7 separate regions of the Homo sapiens genome follow, and regions 1, 2, 3, 4, 5 and 7 are each linked to region 6. The links are contacts of gene promoters, found by promoter capture Hi-C in blood cells and fetal thymus (Javierre and others, 2016). All regions are on one chromosome and are shown on one strand. Each heading gives the region's core, a stretch centred on a gene start or on the middle of the fragment in contact. The rest is flanking DNA. Distances are from core to core; before and after follow the strand shown.

Region 1 (2,700 bases), core at 63-2,562, 170 kb before region 6:
AAAGAGTTTTCTGAAAATGTGCAACCGAAGGAGAATCGTAGAGAATCTCAGAGATCTGACTAATTGTACTTGTGGTTTGGAGTGGGCGGCGGCGTAATCTTGGCTTTTACCAGGATAACTATTTATAGCCTCTTGCTTATCTTACGCAGTCCAGTCCTCAGGGAGTATGTGACACATGGCCGTTCCTGTGTCTGGGACACATCATTACTCCACCATGGCTCTGACTCAGACGGATGTCTGGGGCAGGGGTCCTCTCTCAGGGCCCCTTTAAAGTTTGATGAATGGATGAGAGAATAAGTAAACAAATAAATGTAAAGCAAAACAAAACAAAAACAGCTTTGGAAACAGAAGGAGTCACAGACAAAACCTTACAGGATGGCGGAAACAGCCGGACAAGGAGACCCCATGGTTAACAGAGCGGTGTGACTTATCTCCCCTCAAGCATGGTATCTACTCAGTGCACACATGCATCTTGTTGCCTCACTCCACATGTGACATGCAGGCAAGAAATGTGCGAAGAATCAGGGCCCCTGCCTTTCAAACTCACTATCAGCATTCCTGCAATGGCATGTCAAGCATGATGAAAAAAAAAATGAGCTATGAAGGCAGGAAAACACAAAGAGGAAACTTAAATGCATATTACTAAGTGAAAGAAGCCACTCTGAAAAGGCCACATACTGTATGATTTCAACTCTGTGACATTCTGGAAAAGGCAAAACTATGGGACAGTGAAAAGGTCAGTGAAAGCCAGGGATTAGGAGGGAGAGAGGAACAGGCAGAGCACAGAGACTCTTTAGGGCCATGAAGCTATTCTGCTTGACACTATAAGGATGGACGCACGTCATTCTGCATTTGTCTAAACCCACAGAATGTACAACACCAGGAGAGAATCCTAATGTAAACCGAGGGCTCTGGTTACTAAGACTGTATCAATATTGGCTAATCAAGTGTAACAAATGTACCACAGGAATGGAAAATGTTTATATATGAAGAGGAAGAAGAGTGTGTCCAATTTTTTTTTTTTTTTTGAGACGGAGTCTCACTCTGTCACCCAGGCTAGAGTGCAGTGGCACGATCTTGGCTCACTGCAAGCTCCGCCTCCCGGGTTCACGCCATTCTCCTGCCTCAGCCTCTCGAGTAGCTGGGACTACAGGCGCCCGCCACCACGCCTGGCTAATTTTTTGTATTTTTAGTAGAGATGGGGTTTCACTGTGTGAGCCAGGATAGTCTCGATCTCCTGACCTCATGATCCACCCACCTCGGCCTCCCAAAGTACTGGGATTACAGGCGTGAGCCACCATACCTGGCCTGAGTGTCTGATTTTTGTATAAATCTAAAACTCTCTTAAAAATACAGTCTATAATACATTTTTTAAATTCACTCTCTGGAAGCACACGTTTGTTGAGACAATGAAAAGAAAAGCCTTGTGCAATGTCAGAAACTTGAGTTTTAAAGACGGCAGCCACTTAAGGATTTGGTCCAGAAGCCAGGTCTGTGTGTTCCCACATCCCTCTGTGGCCAGATGGGGTGCAATAACGGCCCACCACCTGGCCTGGCCCCAGGGTGTCCTACAGAAAAGGAGAGGTGAGCTCTGTAAGCCGGGACTGCCCGAGTCCCATCTCACCCCAGACCATCCACGGCTTATATGGCTAACCGGCTCGCGCGATAAGTTGGCACGCCCAATCTTGTCGAACTCCATCCATCACTTGTGCTGCACATTTTCACTGACAGCCTTCTCCTGCCAGGACTTCACTTGGAAATGAAGCAGACTGGTCCCTAACCCCACAGAGCTTACGGCTCACGTAATAGAAACTGCATAAAATGAATCGTTTTTAAGAAAGTGAGCTGGGGAACAGTAGGGGGCGAGCAGCCCCCAGGTTCTGCAGAGCAAATGGCAGGCAGCCTTGCCCTGAGCCTCCACATTCGCATCCTACTGAACTTGCTCCTCTCTTCCAAGAGAACCAGTCACAGGCCCTACTGTCTGTTTGCACATGTGCTGTTACAAAATGCAGACAAAAATGTCTCAGGAAAGACCTTTTGTGGGAGTGGATTTGCAAATAAAAATGCACATGGAGCACCAACCAGAGAAAAAGGGACATTCTAGAAGCAAAGAGTCACCTGTTGATAAAGAGAAAACTCATCATTTCTATAAGTACAAACATCTCATTTAGCAAAAACCATGACCAAGTGAACACAGAGGGCACTTGTTCTTTCAATGTGGCTAAAACCAGATTCCAGGACAGGAAGTCCCTGAAAAGAGACTGTATTTCCGTCACACTTTTCCTCCCTTATACTAAGGCAGGTAAGCTGACCACAGACAGAACCACAGGATGAGGCGGCCGGGCTGGGGATGCTCATACCGGCCTGCTCAGCACCAAGGAACCTATGGGGACTGTGCGACGGTGCTATCAGCTGCATTTGCTGGACAGTCAAGTGTCACTTGCTGTTCTTCAGCCTTAGCAGAGGCAGAAGCACAGTGCTTCCGTGCACAGAGCTGCATCCCTGCTGGAGCGCACACAGCTCTCCACTGATCTACAGGCTGCCCTGCCTCCCATGCATCAGGAGGGTATCTCCTGTGGATGGAGCCAGGTAAGGGAGTAAGGCACACCTGCTTGCTCTCCTCACCTCAAACTCCAGCTCTGATCACACATTCCCCAGCACTGTGGGGTTCTTTCACTGTTTTCACTGGACAGAGGGAAG
Region 2 (2,778 bases), core at 97-2,596, 180 kb after region 6:
TTGATGATATTTCTTTATCCTCTTTTTACAAATTCTGTGCGCTGTTATTTTTTTAATCCCACCAATCCATAATTGTTATTGGATCTCTCTGATACCTGGTGTCATAAAGGAGCCACTATGCCCGGCTGTCCCATGGATGGGTCGCTGACCCCCACCTCGGAAACGGACCTTGTCACCACATTCTGCAGCCACACTACGACCCAGCGGTGAACCCGGTGGGCTGGGTGCATGAATGGCCATGATGTTGTCGTAGTAAACAAGTCAGTTTTGCCTCAGTCCACGTCCTGCTGTGTTGTTTTTTCCTCAGGAAAGAGAGGGTCTCCATTTTAACTGCTGACACTGATTTGGAAGTAATTTACTACATCTCATGAGGAACAATCAGACCAGAGTTGCCAGTGCAAACTGGCATCTTGAGGGAAAATGTGGCCATCAGAATGGTTCTACGTTCTTTTGTCCAGAGGATTTATTTAAAATCTAAATGAATTGCCAACTTAAAAAAAAATTCAAGAGTGTTCTCAAAGACAACCGGCTGCCAGCCTCTCTGGAAAAGTTCTGCTGCTGGGCCTGGGCACGAGCTCCCACACAGCAGCTGTCCACCGAGCCAGCAGAGTCAGAGCTGTGCAGGGCCACCCAGTGCCACACCGGGCAGAGCCCTCCTGTTCCTTCTCTGGTCCCCAGGCAGCCAGGCTTGCTTCCCCTGGTTTAAACTTTTCTCGGAGAACTGTGAGCTTTGTTGATTTCTTAGGCAAAAAGGGGCCACAGTGTAGTCGGATCTGGAAGCTGCTATAAGGAAAAGCGATGGCTCTCACCTGCTCTTGCCCTCCAGCAGCAACCAGGGCAGTGAGACACGCGTAGACGCACAGCAGGGAGAAGGACACGGTGAGGCGCGGCGTGTGCAGGTAGCGGCTGGAGGAGGGCCTGCTGTACACCGACAGCCAGACATGGAAATCCTCCAGGTACTCTGTGAACTTGCAATAGAAAAGCTGAAACGGAAAGCAGGAGAAGTGTTCCCTGACATGGAGCATTTCTGTCAGCAAAGCAAAGTACTGTTAAGCAGTGATCTTCTGAGCAGAGACCACGAGCTTTCTGGTTCTTCCATCCTAGCTGCTTAGCTGTGTACCAGGTGGGCTGTGGTGCAGGTAGACAGCACTGCACTCCCCACACTCTCTGGCTCTGCTATCCTGGCTGGTTAGCTGGGTACTAGGTGGGCTGTGGGTGCAGGTGAACAGTACCTCATTCTAAGCCTCTTGAAGCTGCTCCTCCTTCAGCCTTCTTGGCAGCCCCCTTGCTACAGCCACACTGCTATCACGCTGGACTCTGGCTCACCTGGCCTTCCTCTGGCACCTCCTGAGCTTTGGCACATGCTTCTCCGAGCTTCACCTGCATGGGTCTCAAATGCCTTCACTCCCAGCCTCAGGAGACCTTCTCTCCAGAGCTTCTGATCAGTCTCTCCTTGGTTCTCCTTCATATTCCTAAGAGACTTTCAAAAACCCCTCCACTCTCAGAACTTTCCCTGGCAACATAGTTAATTTCAACTGGGCTTTGAGTACACTGAGAGTGGGGCTGAGTCACCTCCACCTCTGTCCTCAGTAGCCCACAGTGTCTGGCACACAGTGGGAGATACGTTGTTTAGGAATTGCACTAAATTTTAAGTTCCAATTCAATTTAAATAATGCGTGGGGCTCAATATTGTTCTAGAAAAAACAAAAGTATATACAGAACTGCTCTTATGGAATATGAGCAGAGCACAGAAGCGAATGCCAGAAAAATCGTACTAACAGAATGAGAATATATCTTCTTTATGTAAATAAACTAGCCAACAAGCAACGCTCAATTCGCAGCACACACAAGTGCTCATACGTGACTAAATTAATAAGCCTACATTTCTCACAAAAAGCTCTCAAGCACAACAGCTGGAGGATAAGCAACGTATGTCTCCCGTTGTTAACTATGGTTCCTCAGCCAAACAGTCATTCTCACATGGAAACAGTCGTCTAAGAGGAAGCCCCAGTTGAATGGACCTTCAGTTTTAGATGTTGAAGAATTTCCACATGCTGTGGCTGATTGAAAACTTGTTTCAAATCCTTTGTGATCATGTTTCTTACTAGCTTAGCAATATGTCAGGCCTGAAAATGCCAAGGCCTTGAGCCTGGGCCTCTCATCAACGCAGGTGGCAACAGGGCGGGTTGGAAAGAAAGCCCAGTGGCCTGGCAAGGTCCGGCGACACTGGGGACTGTCTGAGTTCACTGGGCTTTTACCACTGTTTGAGACCCAGCTTCAGGAAGTACTCATCAGGGACACAGAGTCACACATGAAAGTTCCCACAATGTTGTCATTACCATAATAAATGAAAGAAAGTTATAAATGCCCAACAGGTCTTCAGCAAATGGTCATGCACAGTGGGCCACTATATAGCCCTGAAATGATGTTTTAAAAATTCATGAAGAGACCTACTCTAAAATGTTGAATAAGAAAGTGCAAAATGCAGCTAGGTGTGTTGGCTCATGCCTGTAATCCCAGCACTTTGGGAGTCCGAGGCAGGAGGATCACAAGATCAAGAGATCAAGACCAATCTGGCCAACATGGTGAAACCCCATCTCTACTAAAAATACAAAAATTAGCCGGGCATGGTGGCGTGTGCCTGTAGTCCCAGCTACTCGGGAGGCTGAGGCAGGAGAATCACTTGAACCCGGGAGGCAGAGGTTGCAGTGAGTCGAGATCGTGCCACTGCACTCCAGCCTGGCAGTAGAGTGAGACTCCATCTCAAAAAAAAAAAAA
Region 3 (2,829 bases), core at 232-2,731, 240 kb after region 6:
CACTCTACTGTACGACATGAGAGCTGTGACTGGAGTCCACGAGACCATGGACATCTTCCTATCCAAGCTTGTGTTAATGTACAAATTTGGGCATTTCCTAGCTTGTGAACACAATAGAGACTTTCCATGTGTGCACATTTTATAGTTTTCAAACCTCCTCCCTCCACAGTGAATTGTTCAGGCTCCTGGCTTTTGTGCAACTTCCTTCACCTATCTTAGAGCTGCTTCTTTCTAACCCCCAAACATATCATGGACTTTAGGAAATGTAAATGAAATTTAAGACAAATACTTTTAAACCCAGGAATAGCAGAACATGTTATAAATAAAACATTCATATTGTTCTTTTACAAGTTTGATGCGGCCAGGCGCGGTGGTTCATGCCTGTAATCCCAGCACTTTGGGAGGCTGAGGTGGGTGGACTGCTTGCACTCAGGAGTTTGAGACCAGCCTGGGCAACACGGTGAAACCTCATCTCTACTAAAAATACAAAAATTAGCTGAGCGTGGTGGCATGTGCCTGTAATCCCAGCTACATGGGAGGCAGAGGCACAAGAATCGCTTGAACCCAGTAGCCCAGAGGGGGAGGTTGCAGTGAGCTGAGATCACACCACTACACTCCAGCCTGGGCAACAGAGTGAGACCCTGTCAAAAAAAAAAAAAAACTGACGCAATTTGAAAAAATACAGTCTAATACTTGCTATTCTTTCACTGGGTCTCAGCCTTGATCACTCTAGATTTTCTTCAGATGCACACAGTTCCCTGCTGATCAGTCTCCTGAGTAGGACCAAAGACAACGGAACAGCTGTAGGATTAGAACTCTCATTTCCACCTTCAACCTCTGTTTGCTCAGCCTCTCCAGCTCCAAGGAGCTGCTGAGAATATTCCAAGTATATACAAAGGCTGGAGGAGGCACCAAGCAGGAAGCTGCTTGGGGAAGATGCAGGGCTGTTCAGGAGCAAAGGAAACCTGAGGCTCTGACTGTGAGGTCAGAGACAGCAGAAGTTACCTTATCTGTCAGAAGGTCTCCAAGACCTAGAGAAAGACACAGACCCCCTGTGAAGACACTGAAGACTACAGAAGTGGCTCCCAGCTCATAGCCAAACCTCCTTCGGAGCTCCCATTACCTGGCCTGTCCCATAGGCTGGACACATCTTCTATGGCTTGCTGGGTTTAATTTAAAAATTACGTAGTTTATATATTTAGAAAGCAGAGTTTTATTTTTTAAGAAAGGGATTATAATCTGTAAGCAGGAAGTGTAGTCTCTGGCTAAGAAATTGAAAGTAAGTATTTGGAGGAGGGAGGGAGGGGTAAGAGGAATTTCAGTTGAATGCATTATCACATATTCACAGGATATAGGAGTTATGGATATCTATGGAAGAGGATTGTGTTTTTGTGTAATAAGTAAACATATATATGTGCTTTATGTTTACTTTTGGGTGGAGACAATATTGCAATGTATTATAATTAGGTCTTTTATGTTAAAAGGTAAAGTAGGGACATGAAGGCACTTAAATGCGTAGTCAAACTGGGCAGAATTAGTTTACGGTTGGTGTTTTTTATTAGGAAAAATTTATAGAAATTAGTTTTTTGTTTAATTAAAGTCATAGTTAAGGCTTGAGGAATGGGGGGTTAATTAGTTGATGTTTGGTGGTTGTAGAGTTGTAATTGTTTTAATACTGTTTATTTTAAGGCTAGTGTTTGTTTAGTTGATAGAGAAAAGGGGAGAAAAATCCTGTGGCAATGAGAACAGCTTATTTTTTAATTGTAGGACTGTGTGATTTCACTCTTGCCTGGCCTTAGGTCTTGTTTATAATTTGGTATCTTATTGTCATAAAGAGTATGTCCTGGCCAGGCGTGATGGCTCACGCCTATAATCCCAGCACTTTGGGAGGCTGAGGCAGGCAAATTGCTTGAGCCCAGGAGTTCGAGAGCAGCCTGTGCAACAGGGTGAAACCCTGTCTCTACAAAAAATTAGCCAGGCATGGTGGTATGCACATGTAGTCCCAGCTACTCAGGAGGCTGAGGCAGAAGGATCACTTGAGCCCAGGAGGGAGAGGTTGCAGTGAGCCGAGATTGCAGCCACTGCACTCCAGCCTGGGCAACAGAGTGAGACCCTGTCTCAAAAAAAAAAAAAAAAAAAAAAAAAGGAGTCCGTTCTGTCAGTCTTATAATCACTATTTTAACATTAATGTTGGTCAGTTGTTGTGTCTAAACTGTGAAAGGGAGGGGGCGTAATGAGGCATATCTGACCTTGAGTCCCATTATGGCCAGGAACTCCATTTTTTAAGTATTTTCTGGGTCCCCTTGGCCAAGAGGGGATTTGTTTAGTTGTTTGGGGGGGACTTAGGATTTTATTTTTAGTTTACAGGCTCTATCTACCTCCCCTACTAGGTTGTTCACACAAGTGTGCAAAGACCTTATTTATCTCCAAATCCCTCCCCCCAGCACACAGCCAGGTACAAATAGTGCTGTTTTCATTAGGAAAATGAAGAGCAGCCTCACCCTCCTCCACTCGTTCAGTATTACAGATTTTCCTTTGCATTTCCCCTTGGCTTCTTACAATTAGCCACCCATCAGGTCAGATGCTCCCCACCACCCCGAGGTCCCCTGACATTGACCCTGCTCTGCTCTCTATTCCCCAGCTGCCCCCTGCTTCAGCCTCTAATGACTTCTCACCTTCACTAACACTCTCCCAACATCCCATCCTTCAGTCTGTTTCCTACTCGTTCCCAATCAACATTTCTAAAGAAGAGTATACAGCCTGCTGGGAAAGCTCTGCTTTTTCCTACAACCTGCATCTGAAGTAATGCTATGCTAAGCCTGGTCTGCA
Region 4 (2,849 bases), core at 158-2,657, 230 kb before region 6:
ATTAGCATGACTTAATTATCCAGGTCAGACAGAAGTGAACGCCTGCCTGCTCACGGGCTGACAATGATCAGGGCTGCAAACACAGCTCAGCATGATGGGACATAGATTCCAGCTTACTGGCAGCACTGCCGGCACCTGAGCTCCACATACACCGCCGCAGCCCACCCTCATTACACATAAAGGAACCACTGTCCCAGGCAGAAGTTCTGGAAAAGGACTCACTCAAACCATAACCACAGACACCAACAGCCCAGCCCACAGACCAGCAACACCAGCAGGAGAAGCAGAAACTATTGGACAGGCCACCTTCACCCAGGGCCACAGAGTGCCACCTTCTAGAACATACTCTTACAACCTACAACAGCAGATTGCAAACCACAGCCCAGGAGCTACTTCTGCCCATTACCTACTTTCCCACAACTTGTGAGCTAAGAGTTAGTTTTACATTTTCTAACTATTAAGAAAAAATTTTGAAAAGATAAGATTCCATGCCATGTGAAAATGTGTTGAAGTTCAGATTTCAGTGTCCAAACACAAAGTTTGACTAGAACATGGCCACTCCCATCTGTTTACCTACATCCAGGGCTGCTTTCACTCTCACTGCAGGGGTAGGTTTGAGTATTTGCAGCAAGACCACGGGGACTGAAAAGTGTAAAATACAATCTGGCTCTTTTTTTTTTGGAGACGGAGTCTCACGCTCTGTCCCCCAGGCTGGAGTGCAGTGGCACAATCTCGGCTCACTGTAAGCTCCGCCTCCCGGGTTCACGCCATTCTCCTGCCTCAGCCTCCCAAGTAGCTGGGACTACAGGCGCCCGCCACCATACCCAGCTAATTTTTTGTATTTTTAGTAGAGATGGGGTTTCACCATGTTAGCCAGGATGGTCTCGATCTCCTGACCTTGTGATCCACCAGCCTCGGCCTCCCAAAGTGCTGGGACTATGGGACTACAGGCGTGAGCCACCGCACCCGGCCTAATCTGGCTGTTTTTAAAAATATTTGCCAACCCCTGATCTGGAATCATATAAAGCCAAAAAGGCAGGGCCTCTAATATGTAGCTCCCTAACTTCTTGAGAAGAAACTACTGATCAAATTCAAGTCACAATTCTGATAAGCCCAGTCATACATGAAAGTCACCCAGGAGCATCCTTCTCTCTGTCAGTGAAAGTCAAGAGCATGCCTTATAGATACTCAATGCGGGCACTTGATACACTCTTTGCAGCTGAATCCTGGCACGTGCAATTATTAATGGTATGGCTACTAGTATACCTCTTGCATAAAACTATATTTGACAGCAATTCACCTACAAAGAAACAACACCTCAGCCAAAACAGGCACACATGGTGGTGACATTCACCCCATTATCAATCACTTTTGTGGCACTATTTATGGATGTATAAAGCAAGTATTTCTTTTCTTTTCTTTTCTTTTCTTTTTTTTTTTTTTGAGACAGAGTTTCGCTCTTGTTGCCCAGGCTGGAGTGCAATGGAACGATCTTGGCTCACGGCAACCTCCACCTCCCGAGTTCAAGCGATTATCCTGCCTCAGCCTCCCAAGTAGCTGGAATTACAGGCATGCATCACCATGCCCGGCTAATTTTTTGTATTTTTAATAGAGACGGGCTTGCTCCATGTTAGTCAGGCTGATCTCGAACTCCCGATGTCAGGTGATCCCCCCGCCTCGGCCTCCCAAAGTGCTGGGATTACAGGCATGAGCCACTGCACCCGGCCTATAAAGCAAATATTAAAAGATCTGAAGGGACAGATAGAAATACCACAACCGTACGGGACTTCAGTACCCCATTTTCAACAATGGACAGATCACCTAGACAGAAAACCAGTAAGAAAACAGGGTACTCAACCTGCACTTTAGACCAAATAGACCTTACAGACATATACAGAACATTGCATCAGAATACGCATTCTTCTGAAGTGCACACAGAAAGTTCTCCAGCATAGATGGCATGTTAGGCCACAAAACAAACCTTAACGAATTTAAGGAGACTGAAATCATATTCAGTATTTTTTCTTTTTTTTTTTTTAATGGAGTCTCCCTCTGTCATCCAGGTTAGAGTGCAGTGGCATGATCTCAGCTCACTACAACCTCCACCGCCTGGGTTCAAGCGATTCTCGTGCCTCAGCCTCCCGAGTAGCTGGGAATACAGGTGCATGCCACCACACCCAGCTAATTTTTTTGTATTTTTAGTAGAGACGGAGTTTTGCCATGTTGGCCAGGCTGGTCTCGAACTCCTGACCTCAGGTGATCTGCCCGCCTTGGCCTCCCAAAGTGCTGGGATCACAGGCATGAGCCACCGCGCCTGGCCTCAAGTATCATTTCTGACCATAGTGGTATGAAACTAGAAATCAATAACAGGAAGAATCTTGGAAAATTCACAAGTTTATGGAAATAAAACAACATACTCCTAAATAACTACTGGGTCAAAGAAAAAAAGTCAGAAGAGAGATTTAGAAATATCTTGGGAGAAACAAAAATTGAAACACAACACACCAAAACTTATGGGATGCAGCAAAAGCAGTTGTAAGAGGAAGGTTTATGGCAATAAATGCCTATGTTAAAAGACAAAAAACTCTCAAATAAAAAAACCTAATGTCAGGCAGGGCGCGGTGGCTCATGCCTGTAATCCCAGCGCTTTGGGAGGCCGAGGTGGGTGGATCACGAGGTCAGGAGATCAAGACCTTCCTGGCCAACATGGTGAAACCCCATCTCTATTAAAAATACAAAAATTAGCTGGGTGTGGTGGCACGTGCCTGTAATCCCAGCTACTAGGGAGGCTGAGGCAGGAGAATCACTTGAACCTGGGAGTTGGAGGTTGCAGTGAGCCGAGATCACGC
Region 5 (2,779 bases), core at 235-2,734, 250 kb before region 6:
GTGGTAGCATTTCACCTGGGTTAGAGAGACAAAACAAAACAAAGTAGCTGCAGCGGGGGACACACGTTCCCGGCAAGGAACACACTCCGCGGAGGCCGGCACAGCAGGGCCTCCCCTCTGGACTCTGGCTGGGAGTTCACGCTTTGGAGTGGAACTTCAGCCCTGGGGCACAGGCGCCTGCAGACAGCTGGGGTGCAGGCAGAGGCACCACACTGCTGCTGCTGGGTGCGGGGCTCCACTGGAGGCTTCAATGTGTTCCCTGTGCTGCTCCTGTGGAACCGCAGCTCTGAACACCACTATCGCTAGTCCTCAGAGAGGCCACACCTAAACCCTTTCAGACCACGTGAATGTGCCCTGTTTTGGAACACATCCGAAAAATAGAATTCCATGGTCTCTTTTTTCTAGACTTTAACAACTGATTGTGATAGCTTTTCTTTGATCTCAATGCTCCATGTTGCAACTTAAAGCTTTTTGTTTTCCAAAAAGCAGCAGCCGGTCATTACTGTGTGTACTATCCTAAATGATTATGTGCATGCTGTAATTTAGAGACAGAGATACAAAGAAGGAGGAAGGGAGAGAGGGAGACAGAGAGGGTGTTGGCATTTAGACAAGTGTTCAGAATCACCCTGATGTGATCTGAACTCAAGCTGGGGTTCATGAGGTCCCCAGGGTGCAGCTCAAGCACCCTAAATGATTGTGCCAATGAGCCAAAGGGTAGAGCAAGCCCCTCCTTGCAGATGCTTGGCATGTGGGGAACGGTGGGCAGAGCAGGAGCCTGAGTGTCCTGACCTGCCTGTATAACTAGGTCCCCCCTGCTTCTTGTGACCGTGCGCAGCACTGGCATCATTGGAAGGGTTCTCAGGCCACAGCTGGGGGAGCTGCAGGGACAGGGATACCCCTCACTCAGAGATCAGGGGCAGGACCACCAGGTAGTGGCACTTTCCCAAATCCCCAGAAGGCCGAAGGCCCTGGACAGGCTGGATTCTGCTCTCAGACCAAATCGTGCACAGGCAGGTACCTCCCCAACCCCGAGGCTGTGGGGTAGTGACTACCAGAGACAGCCACGTTCCCATAAAAGAGACTTTTCTTGGAGAAAGATGGCTTTAAAATATCACATGCCTCACAACAGTAAATGAGAAGCCACCGCAGCAGGTATGATCCGGACCAGCATGCGGGAGAATTCTGCAGGGAGGGTCTTCCCTAACCAGATGAACATCCACCAGAGGAACAAAAAGCCCAGAAACCCAGCCCAGGAGGCAGGGAGCTGTGACTCCAGGCAGACCCAGAAGATGTTTACCTTTGTGCTATCTACAAGGAAAGGGACGGGTAAATAAACCAAAAAAATATAATTAAGACTGTGGAAGGATGTTCCCTGTTGACAAACATGACTGGGTCTCCCTTGTACGGCCTGGCGCTGGCCAGCGGTGCTGTAAACATGGGGCTCAGACTCAGGCCTGGCCTCCAGGGGCCCAGGAACCAGGGCGTTTGCAAGTAGAAAACTGGCATTGTGAAGAAATGTTGCCTCAATTTGCTTTCCAACAGCCAATGGCACGTTGGCCACAAATCTACCACCTCTGTCCGAGACTGACTTCTCAGCAAGACTCAATCAAAGGCTGCCCTTGCAGGGATCCTTCCAGGATGTTCTGAGAGTATCTGGGCCCCTCCTTTGAGCTCCCCATGCCCCACACTCACTACACTGACCACCCATCAAATGCTTCAACCTGGGGCATATTGTAGAGATCCCCAGAGGGAGGTCCTTCTGGCCAAGGGTAAATCCACACATGCACCCCCATTGATAGAGATGATAGCACCCACCTTTCCCTGTCTGCCTTCAAATGTGCCTGTCTGCCTCCACTAGTGCCTTGCAAATGGGGAGTGAAAAGTGGTTAGGGAAGGGAAAAGGAAAAGAGATGCCCCAATTCAAGCCAGTCTTGCTCTCAAATTTTATAAATATTTAAGGGAACCAGAGATTTAAAAAAATAAAAACAACAACACGATGTCAGCTGATAGCTCACGCAGCCTGTGCTGCCATGGGCGCCAACATTTGCCCACAGGAGTCAGGAAACTCCTCAGGAGGCAGCTGTGGGCTCAGTCCTGGCAGGCAGGGAGTGTCCTGGGTGAAAACAGAGGGAGCTGTGGGCTCCAGTACGGGCCACATAAGGGGCACAGTGGAATATCCCCAACCGCAGCTCACCGTGCCCCTCCCGTCAGTACCGCCCCGCCCAGCGCAGGGCCTCCTTCCAGGCCAGGTCCTGCCCTCCCTCTTCAGGAATCCAGGATGCTCCCCCAGGTCCCCCCACTGCTCCTCATAGCAGCTACACACAAACACACTGCTCCTCCCGCAGCAATCCCAGCTCCCTCCACATACCAGAAGGGAGGAGAAGGCAGGCCACGGTGCCCAGGAGGTACAGAGTGGCAGGAGATGGGAATCGGCCTGTCCCAAACAGGTTCCTCTCCAGGCCCCATATGATTCTCCTGTAAGATTCCTATTTTTCACAGCACAAGCTTTCAAATACTCCTAAGGCTCCACAGTGAAAGAAAGAGCGGTCTATCCCACTGGCAGAGAACAACTGCTGCCTGAAATCACGTGGCCCTCCCTTCAGGGGTTTCTCTGTGTATTTTAATGCTAACTTTGTTTGCTGGCTTGAGATCCTAACGGCCTCATCATACACAATCCCTGTTTCATATTAAACCTCTTTCCTCTTGATTAATGGAGGTAAACACCACCCTCCCCAGTCCTCCTGACCAAATCATGAACTGACTCCAGCTTCTTCTGAAA
Region 6 (2,700 bases), core at 199-2,698:
TCTCTGCTTACCTGCAAGGTGACAGCCTCACTTGAGGAGGAGGAGCTGAGGTTCACTAGGTGGGAGCTGGCCCAAGTCAGTTTAGCTCAGAGGTCGGAGTCTTTGTAAGATGCAGAATGAAAATGAAGTGTTACGACCTCAACCTCCCTCTCCCATCACCCGCTGGGCAAATGCCAATGTCACATCCTTTAAACTGACTTCCTGCCTCCTAGGTCTCTGCCCTGCCTGGTTTAGATCGAAGTGATTAACCTTCTCCCGGGAGCTCGGGGAGGGAAGTCTGGCTGAGCCCTCTTGCCCTTCAGTTCTGCTGTCCTCCTCTACCCAGGTGGGTATTTGACAAGTTTGTGGATTTCAAGCAAAATGTATCTAAAATACATTGTCTTACAGTATGAACTAGAGGAAACAGTGTTTGAATGTTATCTGTTTCTTTTGGAACCAAATCATTGGGTTGGATGATTTATTAAGAAGTGAATCATCCGGGCCGGTGGCTCACGCATGTAATCCCAGCACTTTGGTAGGCCGAGGTGGGCTGACCACTTGAAGTTACAGGTTCGAGACCAGGCTGGCCAACACAGTGAAACCCTTTCTCTACTAAAAATACCAAAAACTTAGCTGGGTGTCCTGGCACACACCTGTAATCCCAGCTACTCAGGAGGCTGAGACACAAGAATTGCTTGAACCTGGGAGGTGGAGGTTGCAATGAGCCGAGATCACACCACTGTACTCCAGCCTGGGCAACAGAGCGAGACTCCTTTGTCTTGAAAAAAAAAAAAAAAATTAAAGTGTCCCAATCTGGGGGGAGGAACAGGGTCACTGCTATGAGAAAGCTAGAGATGGCCTAGGGTCCTTTCTAAAATTTCCTCTGATATTCCTCACACTTTCAAATGATTTCTCCTTTCTTCCCACTCCAGCCACAGACTGCTAGGAAGTACAGTATTTTTTCTTTTGGAAGAAAAAGTAAATGGGAAGGCACAGGATTTTTATTAATGCTGTTACTGATTTTAAAATAAGCTAAGAATGTGCCGTCAATCCAGTTGGCTGCTCCCTGCCGCCCACGGAGCCTGTAATCACTGCCTTACAGCTCACGAGAACAATGGCAACACAAGCAAACCACATCTGCATTTCCACATTCTGAGCAGCAGGTCCCTGAAATAGAGGCAGGGTACGGGAAATTATAGGACTTCAGTGAAACTGTAGGATTGCTGGGATTCCCACAGGCGCCCAGCCCTGGCTCGGGGAATATTTGAGTGTGGGAACTACCCTAGCATCTCTGCACTTACAGGAGAACCAGGGGATTCACCCGTCATGAGAGCAGAGCTCCTATACCCTGGCATCCTGCGCCCCAGGCACCCGAGGGATCCTGGGAAAACCCAAAGCTATGTGGCTAAAACTCCTGCTTTGGGGCTCAGGGTTCAGGGGGTACGCTAGACTCCTCTCCCCATTCGATTCTTGCATTTGGCAGACGAGTCACCCGGGCAGTGGGATGAGGATGGCACCAACAGAGTCAACAGAAGGAAGACGGCTCTGGCCGGGCCCCAGGGAGGGAGGCAGCGGTCAGGACAGTGGTCTTTGTGGGGCCTGGGAGGTGTGGATGCTGGGAGGGATGTGGGGGTGGTCCTGGATGACTGTTGTTCTTTCTGGACCTGGGAAGTGGTTACATGGGCGTGTCCACTTCATGATAATTTGATTTTTTGTCTTTTTTTAAAATGTTTGCTATCCATCAAAATTTGAAAAAGCTCCCAGGGCTTTGGTAACTCCCTGTGGGGCAGAGAGAGTCCACAGAATGTCAAGGCTGGATTTTCTGCCAGGCTGGAAGGAGGAGGGCTCAGGGTTGTATTTGATTTGTTTAGGAGATGGAAAGAAACTGGCCATGTCTTACACAAGGGAAAATAGTTGTTTTCCCAACATCTGGGGTCTCGAAGGCACTCGAGAAGTGATTACTTTGGGGGGTTTCTGCTTCTCCTGGCAGGCTGAGCTGTTCTGGCTGGGAGGCCTCACTTGTCTCCCCGTCCACACTGCTGGCCCGTGGGGTCTCGCGATGGCTGATGCTGATGTATGGGAAAGCCACGCACCCCAAGAGACTCCATCCTCCCAGTAAGCACTCCATGGAGGAAAGAGAGAGGTGGTAATCAATAAACTTGAGTCATTATTGATATTAGTTGTATTGAACATTTACCACGTGGCAAGCAGGGGTGCCGGGGAAAAAACGACTAAAACCTGGGAGGAAGTTTTTTTTTTTCTTTTGAGACGGAGTCTCGCTCTGTAGCCCAGGCTGGAGTGCAGCGGCGCGATCTCGGCTCACTGCAACCTCCGCCTCCCGGGTTCACACCATTCTCCTGCCTCAGCCTCCCGAGTAGCTGGGACTACAGGTGCCCACCACCACGCCCGGCTAATTTTTTGTATTTTTAGTAGAGATGGGGTTTCATCGTGTTAGCCAGGATGGTCTCGATCTCCTGACCTCATGATCCGCCCGCCTCGGCCTCCCAAAGTGCCGGGATTACAGGCGTGAGCCACCGCGTCCGGCCAAGGAAGGTATTTTTATTGGCCACAATTAACAGATGAAAAAGGCGAAGATCCAGGTGTGTTTGGAACTTGGGCCAGGTTAGGGGGTTACACAGGCTCAAGAACTGCCTTTCACTTGTTTAGATTCAGTCAAGACCAGAACAAAGAGAAACACGGAGATTTCTGTCCAGGAGTGGG
Region 7 (2,700 bases), core at 96-2,595, 160 kb after region 6:
TGCTCAAAAGGCGTGGGGCTCTGGGTAACTCCACCTGCTACCATAGAGGTCAGAGTTTTATTTTCCTTCCAATACCATTTTAGGGATACAACCAACATTCTAAGAAGGCAGCAACAACCTCCCCAGACTTGTCCTGGAAAAGGGTTAACGTTCAAATGGTGTTCGTAACTTTCGTCACATGAGAATGCTCTCTTTTATCTTTTTTGAAAGTTTCTCCAGTGTCATCAACCCAAGAGACTATATAGAATACAACAAAATAAAATTATAAATAAACTGCTCAAGGAATATGGACAAATATATTTCTCTTTTTTAAATTTAAAGACAGAGAATAGCTCTGTTGCCCAGGCTGGAGTGCAGTGGTGTGACCTGAGCTCACTGCAATCTCCACCCACCGGGTTCAAGCAATTCTCCTGCCTCAGCCTCCCAAGTAGCTAGGATTACAGGCATGTGCCACCACGCGCGGCTAATTTTTGTATTTTTAGTCTGGAGTGCAGTGGCATGATCTTGGCTCACTTCAACCTCCACCTCTCAGGTTCAAGCAATTCTGCCTCAGCCTTGCAAGTAGCTGGGATTATAGGCACGCGCCACCACACACAGCTAACTTTTGTATTTTTAGTAGAGACAGGGTTTCCCCATGTTGGCCAGGCTGGTCTCGAACTCCTGACCTCGTGATCCACCTGCCTCAGCTTCCCAAAGTGCTGGGATTACAGGTGTGAGCCACCGCGCCCAGGATATTTCATTTTTAAACATGGGAAAGGGGTTGAAAATAAAAGCTGAGCAAGGAATGGGATTATGCAAAATGCATATTAACTTTTTCTTCCGAACTTGGGATCAACCTCACCTCTTTCTGGAAGCTTCCTTGCACTTCCTCTGTTTTGGGGTGGTTCTTGTGTTTCCTTGTCAGGGTATTTTGCACACGGAACTAGAATCTTCCATTTCCTGACCTCCCACCCCATCAGCCTGAGGGCTCCTGAGGCTCTGCCATAGCCCTTGTGTCTATCTCAGGCCTGGGAAGCACAGGAATCTGGAGAATCCCGTGCAGCTCAGCAGGGTGTAATGGGATGGGGCCAATGGGTTCTGGCAGGAAAGGAACAGGATGCTCTGCTGGGACCCACTGGAGAGCCACCGGCCTTACACCTGCATGGTCATTCAAGAACCTATGCAGTGCTGCAGTTCAGCATTAGTGACTGTTTCACCCACTGCAAGATAGCTTTTCTGAGATGATCTCCTATGAAGAGGAGACGGAAAGCTCACCTGAGCCCCCGGCACACGGGCTGACGGGGTGCCTCCCGGGTACAGGCCATCCAGAAGTGTGGTCAGACTCCAGTCCCACCAGTCAGCGATGTTTCTCAGGCCACCCAAGCAGTTTCTGGCATTTCTTAATGCAAGAACAAAAATAAAAAGTTGCTTCTGCATCAACAAGAACAATGAAACGTGAGAACAAAAGCATGTTTTCTTGCCAATTTTTCTCTCATTCAGATTTCAGGTACTCTGCAGGAATTAAACTCAAGCTGCTTGCAGCGTGAAGCATGAAACCCTGGAACTCACTTTGCTCCTTAGTAGCAGGAGATAAGAGAGAATGGCGGGTGAAGCACTTGTTCATTTGCTCACTCCATCAGTCACTCAACAAACATTACTATGCAACTACTAGGTGTCAGGCACTCTTCTAGGCACTGGGAAACAGAAAATCAATTCTCTGCCCTCCTATGGGGAAACAGGCAACAAATAAGACAAATAAGCAAACATATACTATGTTGTGACAAATATGAAGGAGGAAAAAAAAAAAGCAGGAAAGACAGGCAAGTGGTGGGGTAAGCAGATGTTCAAGCAGCCATGGAAGCTTCAGTAGGTGGTGATGTCTAGCAAAGACCTGAAGGTGAGGGTGGAGCCCGTGGTCATCTGAGAGAGGGTATTAAAGGCAGAGGGGACGGCGAGGGCTTCCGCAAGCCTGAAGGGTGGGAAGGTGTCGGGGCCACAGGGCTGGTGCAGAGGGAGCGCCGGGGCTAGGGTAAACAAGGGAGGCTCTGGGACACACAGACCAAGACCCAGTCCTCTCTCTGCACTGACTGCCGACTGGGCGCAGCATGTGACTGGCCTCCCAAGATGCCTGTGAGTGGCAGATGTGAAGACATAGATGAAGTGCAGTGTTGGCACAAACACTAGTCTGTTTTCTTTCCAATTAACTTCTTCATTATGTTTATAGATATGCTTCATTTTTCCACCAAGGAACTGATTTAAGGGAGCACTGAAATAACATCAAATGAATGAAATTTATCATTTTTAGTTTGCTCAGACACTGCTATAAAGCCACATGCACAGGCCAAGGCTGTGCATGGCAGCAGCAGGGTGTCCATTTGGCTCTGAGCTACAGCCAGAGGCAAAAGGATAAAATCAAGTGTTCCTACGAGAAAGCAAAGTACCTCTCACCTAACTCTAAAAAACTTTCTCATACATAGCTTCCCATGAAGAGTCACTGAAGAATGGAAAGGATGGGGTGCTCATCAACATGCCCTCAGCAAACAGAAATGGCTCTGATGTGGCTGTTTCATCCAGGTTTCTCTCCACAAAAAGGGGAGACCAAAATAGTTCTCAGGAAAAGGAATTTTGTCATAAGGTGAGAAGAAGTTAGAAAGTCACCCAAGTACACACAGTTGAATGCCTGGTCCAGCACCAGATCCAGACTACTCCAAAGAATGAACA

What was found. Contacts are between HindIII fragments. The CHiCAGO score rates a contact against its expected background, and 5 or more counts as called.
Region 1: a fragment that was not itself captured here is called in contact with the fragment with the promoter of LINC02902 in region 6 in 8 of 17 cell types (total B cells, naive B cells, M1 macrophages and 5 more); the score reaches 30.7 in total B cells.
Region 2: a fragment that was not itself captured here is called in contact with the fragment with the promoter of LINC02902 in region 6 in 4 of 17 cell types (naive B cells, total B cells, M1 macrophages and 1 more); the score reaches 11.8 in naive B cells.
Region 3: a contact is called between a fragment that was not itself captured here and the fragment with the promoter of LINC02902 in region 6, in 1 of 17 cell types (total B cells). The highest score is 6.0, in total B cells.
Region 4: a fragment that was not itself captured here is called in contact with the fragment with the promoter of LINC02902 in region 6 in 6 of 17 cell types (total B cells, naive B cells, M0 macrophages and 3 more); the score reaches 15.2 in total B cells.
Region 5: a contact is called between a fragment that was not itself captured here and the fragment with the promoter of LINC02902 in region 6, in 4 of 17 cell types (total B cells, naive B cells, M0 macrophages and 1 more). The highest score is 12.9, in total B cells.
Region 7: a fragment that was not itself captured here is called in contact with the fragment with the promoter of LINC02902 in region 6 in 8 of 17 cell types (total B cells, naive B cells, M1 macrophages and 5 more); the score reaches 34.9 in total B cells.

The regions. Positions count from the first base shown.
Region 1 is chr7:47,482,160-47,484,859 of GRCh38, forward strand. All of the region lies in intron 3 of TNS3 (tensin 3), which reads right to left. Among named protein-coding and RNA genes, the nearest start is that of SNORD151, 19 kb to the left of the region's middle. RefSeq lists an enhancer at 1-379. The HindIII fragment of the contact is 5,942 bases long and covers 1-2,700 here.
Region 2 is chr7:47,836,112-47,838,889 of GRCh38, forward strand. It overlaps PKD1L1 (polycystin 1 like 1, transient receptor potential channel interacting), which reads right to left. Exons shown (of 57, transcript NM_138295.5): 37 at 810-983. Among named protein-coding and RNA genes, the nearest start is that of PKD1L1-AS1, 42 kb to the left of the region's middle. The HindIII fragment of the contact is 9,294 bases long and covers 1-2,778 here.
Region 3 is chr7:47,894,210-47,897,038 of GRCh38, forward strand. All of the region lies in intron 14 of PKD1L1 (polycystin 1 like 1, transient receptor potential channel interacting), which reads right to left. Among named protein-coding and RNA genes, the nearest start is that of PKD1L1, 53 kb to the right of the region's middle. RefSeq lists an enhancer at 2,492-2,829. The HindIII fragment of the contact is 2,832 bases long and covers 66-2,829 here.
Region 4 is chr7:47,428,703-47,431,551 of GRCh38, forward strand. The region is part of intron 8 of TNS3 (tensin 3); the gene reads right to left. Among named protein-coding and RNA genes, the nearest start is that of SNORD151, 35 kb to the right of the region's middle. The HindIII fragment of the contact is 8,256 bases long and covers 1-2,849 here.
Region 5 is chr7:47,400,900-47,403,678 of GRCh38, forward strand. TNS3 (tensin 3) reads right to left here. Exons shown (of 31, transcript NM_022748.12): 14 at 1-15. Among named protein-coding and RNA genes, the nearest start is that of SNORD151, 63 kb to the right of the region's middle. RefSeq lists enhancers at 1-484, 2,231-2,739. The HindIII fragment of the contact is 2,038 bases long and covers 466-2,503 here.
Region 6 is chr7:47,653,796-47,656,495 of GRCh38, forward strand. It overlaps LINC02902 (long intergenic non-protein coding RNA 2902), which reads left to right and starts at 1,449. Exons shown (of 3, transcript NR_171030.1): 1 at 1,449-1,553. The HindIII fragment of the contact is 4,908 bases long and covers 1-2,700 here.
Region 7 is chr7:47,814,080-47,816,779 of GRCh38, forward strand. It overlaps PKD1L1 (polycystin 1 like 1, transient receptor potential channel interacting), which reads right to left. Exons shown (of 57, transcript NM_138295.5): 47 at 1,255-1,378. All of the region lies in intron 2 of PKD1L1-AS1 (PKD1L1 antisense RNA 1), which reads left to right. Among named protein-coding and RNA genes, the nearest start is that of PKD1L1-AS1, 20 kb to the left of the region's middle. The HindIII fragment of the contact is 986 bases long and covers 853-1,838 here.